Linked DNA regions of Homo sapiens: region 2 is linked to region 1. Evidence: promoter capture Hi-C in 16 types of primary human blood cells and fetal thymus (Javierre and others, 2016). All regions are on one chromosome and are shown on one strand. The core of a region is centred on a gene start or on the middle of the fragment in contact, and the rest is flanking DNA. Distances in the headings are between cores, read along the strand shown.

The links. The method cuts DNA at HindIII sites, captures the fragments that hold promoters and counts their contacts. A CHiCAGO score of 5 or more calls a contact.
Region 2: a contact is called between a fragment that was not itself captured here and the fragment with the promoter of WDR64 in region 1, in 3 of 17 cell types (non-activated CD4 T cells, monocytes and activated CD4 T cells). The highest score is 6.8, in non-activated CD4 T cells.

The regions. Positions count from the first base shown.
Region 1 is chr1:241,650,849-241,653,796 of GRCh38, reverse strand. WDR64 (WD repeat domain 64) reads right to left here and starts at 1,516. Exons shown (of 28, transcript NM_001367482.1): 1 at 1,168-1,516. The coding sequence starts at 1,312. The HindIII fragment of the contact is 1,763 bases long and covers 992-2,754 here.
Region 2 is chr1:241,559,506-241,562,453 of GRCh38, reverse strand. It overlaps KMO (kynurenine 3-monooxygenase), which reads right to left. Exons shown (of 15, transcript NM_003679.5): 6 at 1,702-1,789; 7 at 122-287. Among named protein-coding and RNA genes, the nearest start is that of KMO, 29 kb to the right of the region's middle. The HindIII fragment of the contact is 1,628 bases long and covers 680-2,307 here.

The DNA.
Region 1 (2,948 bases), core at 267-2,766:
ATGGCAGGTGGATCACCTGAGGTCAAGAGTTCAAGACCAGCCTGGCCAACATGGTGAAACCCCGTCTCTACTAAAAATACAAAAAATTAGCCGGGTGTGGTGGTGGGTGCCTGTAATCCCAGCTACTTGGGAGGCTGAGGCAGGAGAATCACTTGAACCTGGGAGGCAGAGGTTGCAGAGAGCCGAGATCGCACCATTTCACTCCAGCCTGGGCAATAGGAATGAAACTCCGTCTCAGAAAAAAAAAAAAAAAGAAAAGAAAAGAAAAGAATTTGGGTAACTTGGGCAAATGATTTATCTTCAGCTCCCATTTTTTCCACAAATAAAATGAACATAATGACATTGATTAACATGACTATAAATTATTAAATACTATTCAATTAATACCAGCTTGGGTTTGAACACCCAAAGTCAAGATTTTCACTTACAAATTACTATGCAGCCTGGCACACTCAGAGGCTGGCTATACTATCCCTTTAGCAATTATATGGGCTCTGCTCCTTTCATTGCAACAGCAGGGTTTGTTCTGTTAGTCTTTCACTCTGCCATGTAGCTTTATTTTTCACAGCTGTCCTCAATACGCCAAAGCTGTACACTACACCACTCCCCTTGAATCTTGTCTATGCACTGGCATCTCTGCTGCAAATCCTCCTGTAAGACCACTGTCCACCATATTCTCCTTAGCTTGCATCCTCAAGATCATTCCTGCCTAGAGATATGGAGAGTGGCCAAGACAATGGAATCATGGTGAGGCAGGAAGCTGCACTTCTTATGAAAGTCTTTATGGTCTCATGATATCTTTAGGCTAAGAAAAAGCAGTGCTATACATTACTGAGCATCCCAGGTCAACCAGTGAGCCATCAAATGGCAGCGTCTACAGAAGAACACTGGACGTCATTTAATCCAATCCCATAGTTTTACAATTGAAGCAACTTCGGTTCAGAGAAGTAAAAAAAAAAAACAAAAACAAAAACAAAACAAAACAAAAGCTTCCTCATGTCCGCTTTGTTATTTAGGGACAGAGAAAGAACAAGAACTGAGGTCTTCATCCCCTTTCAGCACCCATTCTTTCACATTAAGCTCTGATGCTTCTCTCTGATGGCTTAAAACATTTTCCAGTTCTAACCAACAGACCCAATTGGACTATCGTGTAATCACTGATCTTACCTTCTTTATGGATAAATAAGCCTGCTCTTTCATCTCTTTTCTGGGCTGCTGTTTGTTCAACCAATTTTTCAAACCTGTTCAAAGCCTTTTTGAAATTGCTCATCTGAAGTGCCATGTTGAGACGCTTTTCCTTCCTGATATCCATAGGGACATAGGGGATCTTTTACTTCTGTACAGAAAGAATACTGCAAGTTTACCAATTTGGAAAACTTTCCAGTTGTTACAGTGCCTCCCTGCTGTCTCAGTTTTTGCCCTAGGTCTAATTCCTTTGATCTTAAAATCCCATAGTGCGGGTAGGAGTAAGAGTTGCCACTAGGATGTTAGCAGGGAGGAAAGCTGATTTAGGTCTGATGCATTTCATACAGACAAACATTTCAGTAAAAATCCTGACCTCACAATGTCATCAGTGTCCTTCATAGGGTCCTCATTGCATCATAATATCTCTGTAACATCCTACTTCCTTCATAAGGAGGAGATTGAGATATTTTTTTCCCCACAGACTGTGTGTGTGTGTGCGCGTGCACATGTGTGTGTTGTGTATACTGCTTGAGAGGGAAAAGGAATGAGTAAATAACAAGTAAGAAAACTGGGTAATACTTTCTCCCTCGTGTATCTCTTCTCACCTCAAACCTTTTGCCTTCCTCACAATACCGCGGAAAGTAAAGTTTGGCCAGGCACGGCGGCTCATTCTTGTAATCCCAGCACTTTGGGAGGCCGAGGTGGGTGGACCACCTGAGGTCAGGAGTTCAAGACCAGCCTGGCCAACATGGTGAAACCCCCGTCTCTACTAAAAATACAAAAATTAGCTGGATGTGGTGGCGGGCACCTGTGATCTCAGCTACTCAGGAGGCTGAGGCAAGAGAATCACTTGAACCTGGGAGTCAGAGGTTACAGTGAGTTGAGATCACACCACTGCACTCCAACCTGGGTGACAGAGTGAGACTTCCTCTCAAAAAAAAAAAAAAGTAATATTCACACTTATTCTTGCCACTGTACTGGATATGGAAATTCGAACTTCTAAAGATGAAATGTATTTCAGCACCTGTCATTTCTACCACAAACATTTTTAGAGGTCATAGGGAATACAAATGCTCTTCTTCCTTTGTGCATTGTCCTTCGATTGAAATAATAAAGTGAGCCAAGGATAAGGAAGGAGTGGCTTCTGATTATGAGGACAGCTTTTCAAGGTAAGAGGTCAGATGAATTAGAAGAGGCCTTTCTGCACATCTCCTTCCCAGTCATTGCAATCTCCAATCCGACTTAGTCCAAATGCTATTGACTCCGGTTTTCCAATTTTCAACTTTTTATGGGAAGGAGAAGTTGTTTAATGTTTCTCAACAATTAGTTAACTTCCTATGGCTTAGGTGAGTTAGATAAATTTCCTACCCCTTGGTAGTCCATCTTTTAAAACATTCTTCAAGAACTTGCATTCAGAGATGAAGCAGATGGCATTTCAGAGCACCTCCAATTCCAGTACTGTCTTCTTGGTGTCCACCTCTAACTATCTGTTAGGAGAGCGCAGTAAGATTTTATTTAAAGAAAAATCCCCCAACCCCATTTGTTTCTCCTCCTTTTTCCTTTAAAGCTTTCAAACCACTGTACAGTGATGTCTGGAGAACCACTCTTCCTACAATTCTAATGCATTCACCATTAATTCATCTAGGAAATATTTACTGAATACACACTTCATGCTAGAGGCTGTTTTAGACACTAAGGATACAGCAGTGAATAAAATAGCTTCTCAAGTTTATAGACTAATGCAGAAGACAGACAAACAAATA
Region 2 (2,948 bases), core at 244-2,743, 91 kb after region 1:
TTCTTGTGATAGGCCTCAAAATGGATCAAGACATGCTGCTGAGAACCACTGCACTAGAATACGCATTCGCGCTCATGGAGCAAGGGTTGTGGGAAGGGGTTGAAAAAGGGCAAGGACTTACATCTCCGTTCTTAGGTGGAATAGTCAACTCCATGTACCCATGAGGAATGTACTGCTGACTGTAATCAAAGCGAGGTTTCTTCATCAGGTGAGATCTGACAGTTGAATAGGCTCCATCACATCCTACAATGAGGTCACAAGTGACATCTTTGGGAACTTTGTCAGATCTGAAAAATAGAACAAAACATCCAAAAGAAAAATATGTCTAGTGGTGAAAATGATGATGTACCTCTGGGTATGAGAAGTAGTGGCTCCATAGATAACTTAGAAAGCTCACTTTCACATGTTTGACTTGGAGCTTTGAGTTAATAGATGTAACATTTAGATGAAAACACTTGTCCCAGTCATAAGTTTGCTTATGAGAATAGCACAACACCATATTGATTAATAAAGACTTGGTAGGCCACAGAAGTGTGACAGGATTTGAGATTTCTGCATGAAGGAGGAGAATCTTGAAAACAGGGCAAGTGTTCCAAGTGTACGAATGAATGTATGAACAACCACAGGATTTTCTAAGAACAATACATTTGTCTTGAGCACAGGTATTAGAAGAAAAGCTTAAGAAAAGAATACAAGGTAGGGAGAGAAAGGAAGGGGAAAAGAAGAGAATCTTGAATGTCAAGATAAAAGATTTTAAAACATTATTCTGGCAAAAGGGAAACTGAAATTATCTATTAGGGGAATGATGTATGAAGAGTTGCAATTTAAGAAAACTTCCTTGGCAGTTTGAAGAGAAGGCCGAATGCCAAAGGGAGCAGAAAACAGGGATGAGGTGATGGCAACACATTATATTACATGTGCAGGAATGAGAGCCGGAAGTACTGTCCTGCAGCTAGAAGGAGGAAGACAGACTCTGAAGCCAGTAGAAAGTAGGATAGACTGGGGAGTGTTATAGATTTAATGGGAGAGGACAGGGGAAAGAACACATCATGAATGATTCAAATTATTCAGGCATTAGTTCTGGGGAAGTCAGGAATGGGATGTGATTTGGGAGAAGTAGGTGATCAAGGTTTTAGATATGTTTGAGATAATGGCAAGATGTTCCAGCAAGGATGTTTGATGAGAAGTTAACATAAATTGATTTGAGCTTCTATAAGGATTTAGAATGAAGAAAGAGGCTTGGACTGGAAATGTTCATCTTAGAGATGTGGTTGTTGAACCCATGAGCGTGGATCCATAGCATATCGCAAGAGTGGGATATGAGGCTTGGAACCTTAGAGGAAATAGAATCATCCAAGGAAAGGCAGAGAAATAGCACCTGGAAAGAGAACAGGAGGAGAGCAGTGGAGGGTCACGTATATTTGAGAGAGGAGAGAGTTTGAAGCACATTAGAGTCACCAGTGTGGAATACAGTACAGTAGGAAGGTGAGCAAGTGTGAGAATTAAGAATTATTGGCATTGGTGTTCAGATGGCCATCAGGGCCTATTTGCAATCTAAAATTCCTTGAATCTAGAAACTATTTGGATGATCCTTTCAATAATCTTTTAACTCTTTCAAAAGAGCCAAAGAACAAAGTTTGCAGATACAATTCTCCACTCCCAGCTTTCACCTCTGAAGTCCAAAACCTGACCCGTAGTTACCCAAGCACTGTGATCATTCCTTCCTCTGGATTACATTTCAACAGCCTGTGGTTAAAGTGCATTTTCACATTGGGGTATTTCTCAGCAGCTGAGGAAATGGAGAAAGAGGCAAACAGAAATGAAATCTCAATTCTTACTTCACTTAATCAAATTGAAATAGTAATTGTTTTCTGGGAACAGTATGGTAGAGAATTTTATTCATAACAATGTAAAAATAAGTTCACTTAAATGGTAATTTGACAACTGTTTGGTAACTATTTCAGTATAATTTGGTAGTAAAACAGATGAATAAAAATCAATTATCCTCATCTCAAAAAGAAAACATCCAACTGATTCCATTGTGCAAACTCTTGCATTGCTGTAATTATTAGCACCCTGGGAAAGAAGCAAGCATCACATATTTCAGAAGTCGCCTCTAATCCGAGGCTTTGTTGTGACTGGAAATATTCAGTCAAACTCCTTTCCTCATATTACGCATGTCTCTATATCTCTTTTTAGCTAGTTTTCTGGAATTCTGATTGAAGTTGTCACAAATAGAGATTGTTGATTTTAAATCTCTTTGAAATCAAACACTGGAATAGTTAGGGGGAAAATGAGTAAGAAGCTTTGAAACCTCTCAATAAACTGAAACAAATTATTTTCGTAATTTTCTGTTTTGCCTGCTAGCACTCTAGAGAATTGAGTGAATTTCAATTTATGAACTATTAATTATGCCCTTGTTACAACAGTAAAATGTGATTTTGTCCCTATTAATGCTCATGTATTCATCTATAAATATAGCCTATTTATTGTTCTTAAAGGTATAAATCAGAATACAGGTGTTAGAGCTGGAATAGACTTCAGAGATGATTTAGTTCAAAATCCTTCATCTTAAAAAAGGAGTAACTAAGATTCTGGAAGTAAAGGTAAAATGCCTGAGATCACACAAAGTGAAAAAATTAAGGACCAAACTCATCAAGTTGTACACATTAATTATGTACAGTTTTTATATGTCAAAAACGTAAATAAAAAGAATGTTGAATTTGAAAAAAATGGGGAAAATAAGGCAGGAGTTCTATTCCTGCCTGTACTTATCTCCTCTCTTCATCTCAATCTTGTCTTATTTTACTCTTTTTTGTTTCAGTTTGATTTGGGGTTTGAAGATTTTAACTTTCTTGCAAAATCTGAGAGACCCTAAACCAAAGAAATTCATCTATGTAGAAGAAGTAGTTTGGCAAATAACTTTGAAGTAATCAGAATTGACCTGA